Regions from separate parts of the Homo sapiens genome. Here region 2 is linked to region 1. The links are contacts of gene promoters, found by promoter capture Hi-C in blood cells and fetal thymus (Javierre and others, 2016). All regions are on one chromosome and are shown on one strand. Each heading gives the region's core, a stretch centred on a gene start or on the middle of the fragment in contact. The rest is flanking DNA. Distances are from core to core; before and after follow the strand shown. Region 1 holds the start of PRPS2 (phosphoribosyl pyrophosphate synthetase 2). Region 2 has its middle 71 kb from the start of EGFL6.

Region 1 (6,728 bases), core at 1,653-4,152:
TTTCCACTAACATTTTATCTTAAGATAATGTATATTTTATAAACGGTCTGAGACCCAGATCACATATGCACAGAGTATATGTTCTTTTTCTCTTCTAAGTCTTGGGTCTTTGAACAAGTGTTCCATTTTTCCAGAGGCTCCCCAACTTCAAATGTTGTTCAAGAAGTGCACTGTGGTAGACAGTTGGTGGACAGTACTCATGCCCTCCAGTTGTCCCATACCATGTTGACAGCTGGTCTTGGCCATGTAACTTGCTTTGGTCAATGAGACATTAGCAAGCAAGTTAAAAACAGAGGTTTGATAAGCACTTGCTCATTGAGACTTATCTTCTTGGAACACTCCTTGGAACCTTGCAGCCATGCCGTAAGGAAGCCCAAACAACCATGAAGAAAGGCCCACATGGAGGAGAGAAGGGCCAGGGGTTCTTTCAAACTAGTGATTCTCAACCTGTGGTGATTTTGCTCCTTGTAGGACATTTGGCAATGTCTGGGGACACTTTTGGTTGTCACAGTGGTGGATAGGTGCTACTGGCATCTAGTGGGTAGAGGCAAGGGAGGCTGCTAAACAATCTGCAATGCACAGGACAGTCCCACAACAAAGAATTACCCAGCCTAAATATCAGCTGTGCTGAGGTTCAGAAACCTGCTCTAGACCAATGTTTCCCACAACCTGGCTCCTATGGATCAAGGATAAAGGCATTTGGGAGAGAAAGTTTTCACACTTAAATAAAATTATCTGTAGCTGCTCATTTACAAGTGACAGCTTTCTGAACAGTCTGTGACTCATGATGATTTTTCAATGATTCCCATTAGTATTCTCATCAACCCCAATGGCACATTTCACCTTGTTTACATTTAGCATTTAAGCAGAGTAACTCATCAAACTATTGAACCAACAATCATTGTATTAGTTGCCCCAACTGAGATATTGTTTCTCCTTGGTGCTATCAAGTCCATGGTTTGTCACAATTCAATCCGAGCTTCCAAATCTGCAGCCATTTACCCACCCAAAGACCAGGGGCTTTAACTTTTACTGTTTTATAGTCCATCAGCTTTGGTTCTGTGTTACCAAAGAACCACAGCCCCATCATGCTAAGAGGATGCCACTTTCCCTTTGAGAAGAGCATCTATATATTTAGAAGAAACCATTATTAGTCAATTTTATCTATGAGAGAAATATTAAGAATATAAAAATTATAGTAATTTGCTGATAGTAAATTTTATTAGAAGAGTTTAAATATAACTACATTAGCAGACTCAATAAAAATTTTAAACATAGTGGGTCAAGTATAAATCTCATTGCTATGGTAATTAGCTGTGAAATACATAGATAATAAACCATTGCAGATAGGGGTTTTTGTTTGTTTTCTCACATAATAGGGCACATATGCATCTCTAGGCGGAATGAAAAAGGGCCAGAAATGCTGCTAAAATTGTCAGTTTGAATAACTTTTTGATAGGCTGGCAGATACAAAAGTTTACAAGAAACACTCGATGTGCCAAGTAATCTCCTTGCAAAGTACAAGGACCCAGATGAAAAATCCCAATGATGCGAATCATCCCTGTAATCTCCCAAATCCCATTATGAAGTCTGATTAGAGTAGGCTACAACCCAATTGCAAGTGGGCTTTGCTGTTGATGGAGAGCCAATTCGTGGCAAACATTAGTAAAACCAAGCCATTTATCTACCCGGTTGAATCAGCCTTTGTTGAGGAGTGTGAAACTGTGACCAGCATCACCAACCAGCCCTCTATAGACAGGGACTGCTTTCCTTTCTCCTACACTTGGTTTGTGCCCTGAAGTTGGCTCTGGTACTGCATTGGCATCTTGAGAAAACCTTTTTGCTGGTTTCTAGCAGGAAAGAGAGGAAGGAGGCCCTGACTCCAGGGATGTGGAGGGACTGAGCTGGATTGTCTAGGGAGATCTGTGTTCCTGGGATCAGGCCCTTGAGCACCCAACAGGCAGAAGGTTGTGAAGTGCCCCAAGGACCATCACATCTACCGAAAAATGGTGAATCTGGGGGACTTGGTTTGATCCAGTGAGCCACCAAGAGCAATACTTCCCCTCAGCCTGTGATGAGGACTCACATAGTGGTTGGATTTTTTAAGGACACATGGTGCAGGGGCAACTCTGTAGTTCAGGGGTCATCAAGTTTGAACTATGAGGGACCACATGGCCAATATTTACATTTTGCAGACCAAGCAAGAAAAGGGAAGATATTACGTAGGAACTTACATAACAAGAGAGAAAAAATTGTCACAATGTTTTTATTGATATAATCCAAAATACGGTAATATTTGAGTACAATTATTTGCAACTCACATCTATTAATGAGAGAAAAGGAATTCTTTTGCGGGGGGGATATTTCTCTTAATTGGAGTTCAAAGGCGGTGTCTGCTATCATCACATAAAGTGCAAATGTTCATGTATGAAAACCATGCTTAGCTCTCTGGTACAAACACAGGGAGCTCTCGCGATCTGGCCCATAGGCTGTAGTTTGCAGACCCTTGCTATAGCTGAACACCAGTCGCCCACACTGGGTTTGCGGTGTTCCGGGGTGGGAAGTCGCTCCGGGCTGCGAAGCACCTCGAGGGATCCCCCCGGCCCGAACTCTCCCTCTGTGCCCAGCTAACCGCGGTTCATTGGCTCTCCCCGCGAGGCAGGTCTGGAAGATCAAGAATGAAGCTCGGAGCTCTCTCGCGGAGCAAGGACACCTTCGGGCTTCAGGACCACCCAGGGCGTCCAAAACTGCTGCCAGGGCTGTGCCCCCGCCCCCCGGCACTTTCCAGCTCCCCCTCCACGCCCGCTCTTCCTCCCTCTCTGCCCCCTCTAGCTCCTCCTCCGGCTCCTCCCCCTCCGCTCCTCCCCTTCCCTACATCTAGCCGCCGCGCTTTCCCGCTCCCGCAGCAGCAGCCTCCCGCGTCGCTGTCGCTGTTGCCTCCGCCACCTCCTCCGCCGCCGCGCGCCCCTCGGAGTTCCGCGCCCCACCATGCCCAACATCGTGCTGTTCAGCGGCAGCTCGCATCAGGACCTGTCCCAGCGCGTGGCCGACCGCCTGGGCCTGGAGCTGGGCAAGGTGGTCACGAAGAAGTTCAGCAACCAGGAGACCAGGTGGGGGCCGCGCCGGCGGCCGGGCTAGGGAGAGCGCTGGGCACGCGGCTGCGGGGCCGGGTTGGGGGCCGGCGCCTGCCCGGGCCACCTCCGCGGACGCCGCGCTCCCCCTTCCGGGGCGGGACGGTGGCAACGCGGCCTCCGCGCCCCCGCGCCCGCGCCTGCGAAGAAACCGAGGCGGGGCGCCGCGCGTCCCGATGCGCGCCTCGGCTGTGCCCCCGGTTGCAGGGCCTCCGGTCCTGGGACCGCGGCGACCCGGCGGTCCCGAGCCGCTCCCGGCCTCCCAGCGGTGCCGCCCGGCCTGGCGTCCCCAGCCCGGAAGGGAGACGTCTGGGCGGTCACAGACCGTCGGGGAGAGAGTGGGCGCAGCGGGCGGGAACCGCATCGGGTCAGCGCGCGGTGGAGAGACGTCCTGGGTTGGCTGGTCCCAGTTTCCGCGTCCCTACAAAGCTGAACCTCAGACCAGTGCGTGCGACTAAAGGTTTCCCCCCGTCCCCAACTCTGGTTGCACGCTGGGTTTACCTGGGGACGGTCCGAACGCTGCTTCCCCCGACCTGCCCCCAAGGGTTTGATCCAACGGGCGGAGGATCAGCGATTTTACAAGCTTCCCTGGCTTCTCCTGAGCAGCCAGGGCGCAGACCACTGCGTTATCCAGAGGGTGCAGTTGTGCCAAGGTTTGAAAGACTGTGAGAACCCCAGGACGCACGTGCTGGGCTCCCCTCTGCTCCCACTACTCTTGCTGCTTTAAAGATGATGGACTTTCAGCTTCCTTCTTGTTCTAGGACTCTGCTGTGTCCAGCAACAACGCCGTGATTCGACTGTAACTTTCACCCATTTCTCAAGTCCAGGAGAGCCTCAGGTGGTGGCCATCCTCGGAAGCTGACCTGGGGGGCTCCTTTGTCTATCTGCCTGAGTCCACACAGCTCCTTGACTCATTTCAAATTGGTCTCATTTTTCCCCCTTCTTCCTCCAATGTCTAGTACCGTTAACTGTCCACAGTTACTGATAATTTTTATATCTTTGGCAAAGGTTCAATTTTACCAACATTTTCTAGAAATGGTGTTGGAACAGTTGGACACCCATATGCCAAAAAATATGAACTTCCATCCATACTTTTCACCATTTGTAAAAATTAACTTTGAAGTGGATCATAGACCTAATTGTAAAATCTAGAACTATAAAATTTCTAGCAGAAAATCTTGACTTGGGGTTAGGCAAAAATTTCTTAAGGAGGAGTTATGTTAATACTGATGGGGAAGATGCTATATTTTGGCAAGTCAGCTTTTTAGGATATGTGAATCTTACGTGACTTCTTCCAGGTGGCAAATTCCAGTTATGGCTCCGATGATAATATAAGCGAAGAAACATTGTGAATGAGTGGCAGGTGGACTTTGGCTAAAGAATTCCACTCTGCAGTGTTTAATGCAGAAGTCTGAGAGGATGGTCTAGGGCTCTGGAGAAGGATAGAGCTAGGTTTGAGTGTTGCAGTATTTTGCCAGTCTTGTTCAAGTTTCAGTCGCTGTAAGAACACGAGAAGAAGAATAGTTTTTGTTCAGAAGGTGTCGTCATATAAGTAAAGGAGAAATTTGTTGATGAAGTAAATTTTGAAAGCAAATATGTTGCCCTTCCAGGTACTCAGTGCAGCATGATCTTTTGCTAAGGAGCATGGTTAATCTAGATCAGTTCACTGCTAAGTCAGTGTTGAGTTTCTCCTAAAAATACCACATGTGCCACTGGGCAAAACTCACTCAGACACTGAAGTATGATTGTTTATACATTTGGTTCAAATATAAAGCAGACTCACTTTTATTTTGTTTTTGGCATTTTATAACCATCACTTGATAATTAGAAATCGTGGGACCTCAAAAACCACTCAGCATGAAGTTTGGGAATTGCCTATATAGCTACATTTTATGTTTTTAATGTATAGAGTATAAAAGGTTCACTGCCTGACTTTTCTCTTTTCCATGAACTGTACAAGTACAGAGCTTAATTTTTATAAACAGCCCTCTCTGGACCAGTTACTGTGCTAGGAATCCAGCTTTTAGCTGTGTAATCGTAGAGAGGAAAAACTGAAGGGCAAAATGAAGACAAAATTGATTCAGTTCATGTAAGGGCCCCTTCTTGAATCTGTCACTGAACTAGGATCAGAAATCTGGTTTGCTGTCTCCTGGCCATCAATCCTCCCATTTTGCGTTTTTTATATGCTACTTTACTGAACATAGAGCCTTCCAATTTTACCTTCTTATCCCTAAATCATTTCAGATATGCAGGGAGAGGTCCGCTCCAGCTTCACTATAGACCATGGAAATTCCATGATGACATCTTAGGACAGCAGGTGTCTAGATGTCTCTGTTGTAACATTTTACTATGGTCAGTTAACCTGCTGGCAGAATCTTTAGCTATACTGTGAGACAAGGTTATGCAAAGTTATACAAGGTTATCGGTTACCATGTAATAAATAAAGAGCTTAATGGCTTAAAACAGTAATTGTTGATTTGGCTTACAAATCTGCAATTTGGGAAGGGCTCAGTGAAGAAAGCTTGTTTTTGCCGCGTATGGTCACAGCTGAGGCTGGTCACAGCTGAGGCGGCTAACTGGGGCTGGAGGGTTCTTGAAGATGGCTCACATGACTGAAGTTGTTACTAGCTTTTGCCTGGGAGCTTGGTTAGGAACCTCAGCTCCTCTTCTTGTAGGCCTCTCCATGGGGCTGCTTGAGCTTCCTTACAGCATGGAAGCTGGGTTCTAAGAGCACATGTTCCAAAAGACAGGACATTGAAGCCACCAGTCCATTAAGGACTGGGCTTGCAAGTTGGTGTATCATAATTTCTGTCATATGCTGTTGGGCAAGTACAGAGCCCTCTCAGATTCAAGGGCGGGAGACTAGACCCTGCTCCTTGATGGGAAATGTGTTAAGAGTCTGTGGCTATCTTTTAGTTACCATGCCCGTTTATTGTTGAGTCAGTGACGCTCTTCAGCGTTTTTATTTGGGGGTCAATAAAGATCCTCTGGCAGAATGGCAAATGGATGCTGCCTTCTAGCCACAATTTTTTAAAGACCTAGAATAAAGGTAGTCATGATCATCTTTTTGAGTAGAAGCAGGACTAGCTTTAGGGGAAAAGTTGCCATGGTGATGATATTCTCTGTCCTCCCCTGGACTGCTAGTCATATGAGAACTGAGGTTCCTGAGTAAAAACAGGCCAAAGAATCTAATCTTGTGGGATAAACGTCATAAGACCAGGAGTTGGCAAAGTTTTTCTGCAAAGGGCCAAATCGTAAATATTTTAGGCAGTGCTAGCACATGTAGTCTCTGTTGCTGCGGTATCTTACAGTTCTGTAAGTTACGGTAATGTCTGTCACAGGTTAGCAGGGCTGTATTCTCTTCTGAGGCTCTAGGGGAGAATCTGTTCCCGTGCCTTTTCCGGTTTCCAGAGGCAGCCCACATTCCTTCACTATTGGCCTCTTCACCTTCAATGTCAGCAACAAAATGTTGCTCTGACCCTGCTTCTGCTGTCTCCCTCTTGCATTTTTAAGGGCCCCATGATTACAATGGGCCAATTTAAATAATCCAGGATAATTTCCCCATGTTAAGGTCAGCTGATGAGCAACCTGAATGCT
Region 2 (6,728 bases), core at 1,320-3,819, 710 kb after region 1:
TATCTGCCCTAGTGTCACCCATCCAGGTTTGGATGTCTAGACCTGATGCAACTTTGGCACAGCAATAGGGTGGCTCAGAAGGAAGCTTGGCACAGAGCTCAGCTCTAGAACAGATCAATACTGGGAAGCAGGCCAGTTCTCATCAAAGGTTCAGCAGGGTGGGGTCAGGGGAGGCAAGCCACAGGCATAATTCAAGATGGATGACAGCACAAATGGCCCTGCAAAAGACACTATGTTCTGCCAGGTGTGGGGACAGAGTGGCTGGGAATCTGAAGCAGTAAAGAGTTTTACTGTAAAATCAGGCTGCTTCTGTAAAGTCAAGCAATGAGTAAAAGTCCCAGCCAGCAAGCTGGGGTTTGAGGACAGGGCTAAATCCTGGGGTGGGACACCTTGTGAAACAGTAAGTCAGGACCCCAGGAAGAGGCAGGAACACGGATACTTTGTAAACCAGCTGAAGGAGGATTTGAATCAGGGACTAAAGCACAACTGTGGGCCGAGCCTTGTGGTTCATGCCTGGAATCCCAGCACTTTGAGAGGCCAAGGTGGGCAGATGATTTGAGCCCAGGAGTTTGAGACCAGCCTGGGCAACATGACGAAACCCTATCTCTACAAAAAATACAAAACAGCCCAGTGTGGTGGTACATGCCTGTGGTCCCAGCTACTCGGGAGGCTGAGGTGGGAGGATCGCTTGAGCCCAGGAGGCGGGGGCTGCAGTGAGTTTTGATCGCATGGCTGCACTCCAGCCTCTGTCTCAAAAAAAAAAAAAGCACAACTACGATACGGGACAGATGGGAGGCTTGGGCTCAGTTTAGAAAAAGATGTTCGTTAACAGAGTGGAGATGCCATGGGGGAGGGAGGTGGTGACATGGAAAACGTTACTGAGTTCAGTAATAAGCAACAGGACACTGCACCTTGAGTCTGAAAAATAGGAACCCTGATTTTACAACAAAGAGAAACTCTCCCTTCTCCCTAACATCACACGTGTGTGCATGCGCGCATACACACACACGTGCATGCATACACACACACACGTGCATGCGCACACACCACCTCTAACATACTATGGGACTCACTGAGACAATTCCTGCCTGTATGCAGGATTGGTCTGGAGCACTGGGGATCATGCTGAAGCAAAAGTTGCTCCATGAACAGAGCAGAAGCGAAGCAATTGAGGCCAAAATTGTAATCAGCTTTTTGTGTGTGTTTTTGTTTTTTAATAGCATCAGCTTTGTTTTTTAAATTATTTATTTTAAAAAGTTTTAAACATAACATATATTCCTTATAGAAAATCTGGAAACTACAAAAGAATAAAAAAAAGAGAAAAAAAAGACTTACATCCCTATACTACCTCTGTTAATATTCTTCTAGTCTTTTTTGTTTTTGCCAAGATTTATTTTTACACAAAGAGAAAATATATTTCTATGTGTCACTTTGTATCCTTAACATCATGACAGAATCATTTCCCTTGCTATTACAAATTCAACATGAATAAGTTTTGTGACATTTCTTGGTTTTGTCTGTTTGTAAAGTCAACCCATTCTCCATGTAGAAAATTTGGAAAGCATGAAAAAGTGTAAAAAATGTACATAATCTATGATTCCATATCTAAATGATAATCACTCAAGATGTTGGTGGGATTTTTTCTTGTCTTTTTTTTTCGCTTTGATGGTACCTTTATTCTAATGATAATTAACTGGTGTTCACCTTATAATTTGCTTGACATATAGTAATTATCCAGGCAATATCATCCTTCCAGAATTTTGCCATGGCCAGGGCCTTGTATATTTGAATCCATAAGAAAATGTTAACTTTTTTCTTCAGATGGACCCTGGGTTTATACTTCACTTTGGATTCTTCCAAGTAATAAACTCCCAACCCAAGTAGTAGACAGGGAAACCTTCTTTTCCCTACTCATCACTATTCTTGTAGAGCGTACTTCCCCCTCTTTCTTGATGGAAATGCTCTGCAATATATCAGATTTGGTGGTGTGGATAGGACAACTAAAAATGCCTATGAATCCGTAGCTGGAATCTCATTAAGGATTTTGGTGATCATTGGTTTGTATAATTCAAACCTTATTTTATACATGTACATACACCCACAAACAAGAATTTGTCCCCAAACAAAATTGAGGTTTGCCTCTAAAACTCTTAGGAATGGAGATATTTGTCCAAAGGTAACACAGGATGTTGGTAAAAATAATGGCTTAAAGTCAGAAGGCCAGAGTTTGAATTGACCTTGACTACCCAGTCATGGGAATTTAGCAAATTGTTTCTCTTCCCTGAGCCTCAGTTTCCTTGTCTATAAAAAGGAGACATTAGCTACCTCATCAAGGATTAAGTGAAGTAACAAGTACAGACAACATAATAAATGGTGAAAGATTTATATGATGTGAAGAGAGAAATAGAACTGCCGTTCCACCCAGCAATTCCACTACTGGGTATCTGCCCAAAGTAAATCATTATATTAAGAAGACACTTGCACTTGTATATTTATTGCAGCACTATTCATAATAGCAAAGTTATGGAATCAACCTAAGTATCCATCAGCACATGATTGGATAAAGAAAATATGGTACATAGACACCATGGCATACTATGTAGCCATAAAAAAACAATGAAATGATGTCTTTTGCAGCAACATGCATGGAGCTGGAAGCCATTATCCTAACTGAAATAACTTAGAAACAGAAAATCAAATATCACATGCTCTCGCTTATAAGTGGGAGCTAAACAATGGGTGCACACGGACTTAAAAATGGAAATATGAATGATAGACACTGGGAGCTCCATAAGGGGGAAGTGGAAGAGGATGAGAGTTGATAAATTACCTATTGGATACTATGTTCACTATTTGGGTGATGGCTACATTAGAAGCCCAAAACCCACCATTACATAATATATCCATGTAACAAACTTGCACGTTCCCTGAATCTATATTTAAAAAAAAAATACAAACTATAGTGGGTGACATAGAAGAACCCCTTTATTAGATACCGGCAGTGAGCCAAGTAAGTTGCTATGTCACAGGCTGGCAAACTATGGCCCAAGGGCCAAATCTGGCATACTGCCTGTTTTTGTAAATAAAGTTTTATTGGAACACAGCCAAACCCATTCACTACTGTATTGCTTATGGCTGCTTTCATACTGTGTTGGCAGAGGGGAGTAGTTGCCACAGAGACTGTGGGGCCCTGAAAAGCCTGAAATATTTACTACCTGGTTCTTTACAGAAATTTATTTCCCACCCCTGTGTTAAATGTTTCCCCAAAACCACAGAGGTAAATTATATTGTCTTCCCATTTCACAGGTCAGGAAACTGACACATGCAGAGATTAAGGACTTGCTCACACTGCTGTTATTGAATTGGATCTTGATCCCAGGTCTATCTCAATTCAAAGTTTAGCAACCACTCTACAATGCTTCTTCAAAAGATATATGAATTAAATCTGAACTCTCATAGCCTTAACTTCCACTTCTGCCATAACATCTCACTTTCAACCATTGATAATGATTGAGCCTTGAATATAGACATTAGTGTCTCTTACATTCATTCCAGCATGCTGTTACATAGCTCCTCCAAAAGAAACCACATCTCAACTTCAAACCAGTATATCAAACTGCAAGTCAGGGAAATGGATGAAACTATGGCATTGTCAGAGTCAAGAACTGTGAAGGATCTGAGATTTGATCCTACTAGCAGTCTCATGAGTTAGTCTGCCACAGTTTCATGGATTCTGGCAAAAGATATGAGACTCTTGGGTCAGAGACAAAAGAGACTTCATTATTCTCAGAACTACAAGCAGCATGAGTTTTCATATTCACATCAGATCCTTCTCACTTCCCGAGTCCCATGGGAGTTACACAGAGTGGCCCAGGTAGATGCCGTGTATGCAGTGGGTTTACATCACAACTGAGGAATCCTGAGTTTAGGAAACCCAAATCTTTGACAATGGACGGTAGGTAAACCTGCCTGACTTTTGCTTGAGAGACAGATATTATCTTGGTTATACTTGACAGCAAACAAACTTGCCCTCAGTTCTGGAAGTAGATGTTCTTTCTACCTTTCAAAGGATGCTATACAAACATCCTTGACAAAAATGTGCAGAACAAAGGTTGTCAGCACCTCTGCCAGCAAGACAAAACTGTAAAGGTCGGTGGAGAATTGTCTCCCAACAGTCATTAACAAAAGCTCTATGTCTCTGTGTTCTATGTGTTGAGTGATTTTTACTTTCTATAGGTTTTCCAACTGGTAAATACTAAATTTGCCTCTTCACAAACCAGTGCACTGTGAACTTGTCTTTGCAATTAGTAACAAATAATTTTACTTTATTTCAGCTTTGTGTGCTCTCTTCTAAGAAAAATAAGCACTTTCTTCTTTTATTTCATGAAACATTACAGTGAAGAGTCTAAGGGTTTATTATTCTGACAGTCCTGCCAAGGCTGAAAATCTCAAACTGGTCCAAACGACCCAACTGTCAGTTCCAAGTCTTTAGCTCTTCTCCATGCAGTTGAAGTTCTTAGCATCCAGGAAAAGCAGGCAGAAGCTGTATAACTTAAAGCAGGGAGATAATCAATCTTGCTAAAGCTGAGATGGGTGTGGGTGTGTGGGTGTGTGGGTGCAGGGAAAGAAGCGGCACCAGGCAGGTGGGAACACTGAAAGCAGGTACTATATAAAGTCTCATCTGAGTAGCCAAGCAGTAGCAATAGTGTGGTGTCTGATGCCAGCTAAATACAATGCCACATAACTACCTTTTCAGTGCAAAAAATCATTTCTATCCTCTGAAATGCTTGTTGCCATCAGATGTCATGAGAACAAACTGACACGATAATATTTAAAGCCAATAGTAAAAGATAGATTTCAAGGGAAAACATATGGACTGAATTTGCTCAATGCCCGACTGTAAGCAAAGGAAAACAAAAACATGCACATTTCACATTGTCAAGGAAAAGGCAGAAGCATATCTTTACTCAAAATAAACATCGCCAGCAGGTGCAAAACATACATACGTTTACTCTCCACACTTGCTGATGCGACTGCCAAGTAAACATGCATGTAAGCTTGTAGCTGAGGATGGCAAACAGAAGCATACATCTGTCAAGAGAACAGACTTCACTCGTCTTCACTGGGTGGTTCACTTCCGAGGGGGCTCTTCTTCTAGCCGCTACTGAGTCAGGGTCCATGTCTACACAAGGGTTTAAAACAGGCTTATTTTCTATATATTTTAGGAGACTGGACCACCCCATTTTAATGGCCAGACTGAATGCATTCAGTTATACCAGGCTAATTATCATCCCACTCTGGACATTGTAATAGACTATGAATGTCACATCGCAAATGAATGTCACATCTCAAATCCTGCCTCTAATTTCCTTTTTCTCTTTGTCTCCAATGACCTCTTCTACTCCATATTGGCCACATGGTCACATCCTAAACTTTACCCTTCATCTGAAAGAACACCTATTGTCATCTGTGAAATCACAAATTCAAATATCTGGCACTCTGACTACATATTTCCTCTCCAATACTTTGGTTCTCCCAATACTTTGGTTCTCCTGCCTCAACAGGCCCATTGGTCCCTAAACTTCCTCCCTCCCAGACACTCTCTTCCTTTCTTCACTTCCTTTCCTATCCAGCTCAGATAACTTGGACCTACATTTCAACCATTCTTCTGCCAAGGTCTTCATTCCCCTTGCCTATTGTCCAGCTCTCCAATCAATTTGTCAAAACCCCATCCTCAGTGGGTCCAACTGTCTGCCTCTTCTAATGCTACTCAGCAGAATTAGAAAAAAACTATACAATCTCTCAGATTTGCACTACAACAAATTTATAGGATCCAAAATCAGTTGGGTCTTCAATGTTGCTACAATCTTTGTGTTTCCTTTGTCAAATCTTCGTCCCATTTTCCATATCAACCATTTAAAACATTCTTCCATCTCCATATGTATATAATGATATATATACATAATGACAAGCAATTGGAACTAAACTATGTCCATTGTAAAGGGATTAATTAAATAAACTATGATACGTCTACAAAATGGAATAGCACCTATCAATAAAATGGAAAGATCTCCAGGATATATTGTTTCAAGTGAAGGTTCAGGATAGTGTTTGTCATTTCCTTTATCCAGATGGGCTAAATTACGTGCAGTGACAAATAAACTATGACATTGTTACCAAAACTCCAGCTGAATCTTCTGTGTTATTGGCAAAAATACCCATGTATTTAAGGTCCTTAACTGAAGTGAACACCTAATATGCACAAGTTATAAAAGTGGTTAACAAGGACATAATAACTAGCTCTGTCTAATATTTCAGTTCTCATAAGTAATCTAGATAAACTGCTAAAAATGAATAAAATATAAATAGGATAAACACTATAGGTGAACTTTTTGTGTAATTTAAAAACTTGATATTATTTTGGATGCTCAGTAGATGTCTGCATCATTTCCAACTAAGAAAGGGTGATGATATGGGGAAACAAGTTTGTTCTTTTTTAAAATTATGGAATGTTCTCATGTATTAAATGCTAATGTTTGATAGACAGTTCAGGATTTCTTCCTAGGTTTTCACTAAAATTTAAGGTTACTAAGAATAAGAATTCTAGTTAATACATAATTCTGTATATAAAATGTGCCAAAGAAGATGTGTTCTCATTGAGAAAAATAATAATTTTGTCTAATTCAGAAGTTATATAAAGGTGAATTCAATCACACCTGTAATCCCAG

Evidence for each region. The method cuts DNA at HindIII sites, captures the fragments that hold promoters and counts their contacts. A CHiCAGO score of 5 or more calls a contact.
Region 2: a fragment that was not itself captured here is called in contact with the fragment with the promoter of PRPS2 in region 1 in 3 of 17 cell types (total CD4 T cells, monocytes and activated CD4 T cells); the score reaches 6.0 in total CD4 T cells.

Annotation. Positions count from the first base shown.
Region 1 is chrX:12,788,510-12,795,237 of GRCh38, forward strand. It overlaps PRPS2 (phosphoribosyl pyrophosphate synthetase 2), which reads left to right and starts at 2,903. Exons shown (of 7, transcript NM_002765.5): 1 at 2,903-3,110. The coding sequence starts at 2,989. RefSeq lists a silencer at 3,159-3,608. The HindIII fragment of the contact is 8,457 bases long and covers 1-3,712 here.
Region 2 is chrX:13,495,321-13,502,048 of GRCh38, forward strand. No RefSeq gene overlaps it. Among named protein-coding and RNA genes, the nearest start is that of EGFL6, 71 kb to the right of the region's middle. The HindIII fragment of the contact is 4,972 bases long and covers 84-5,055 here.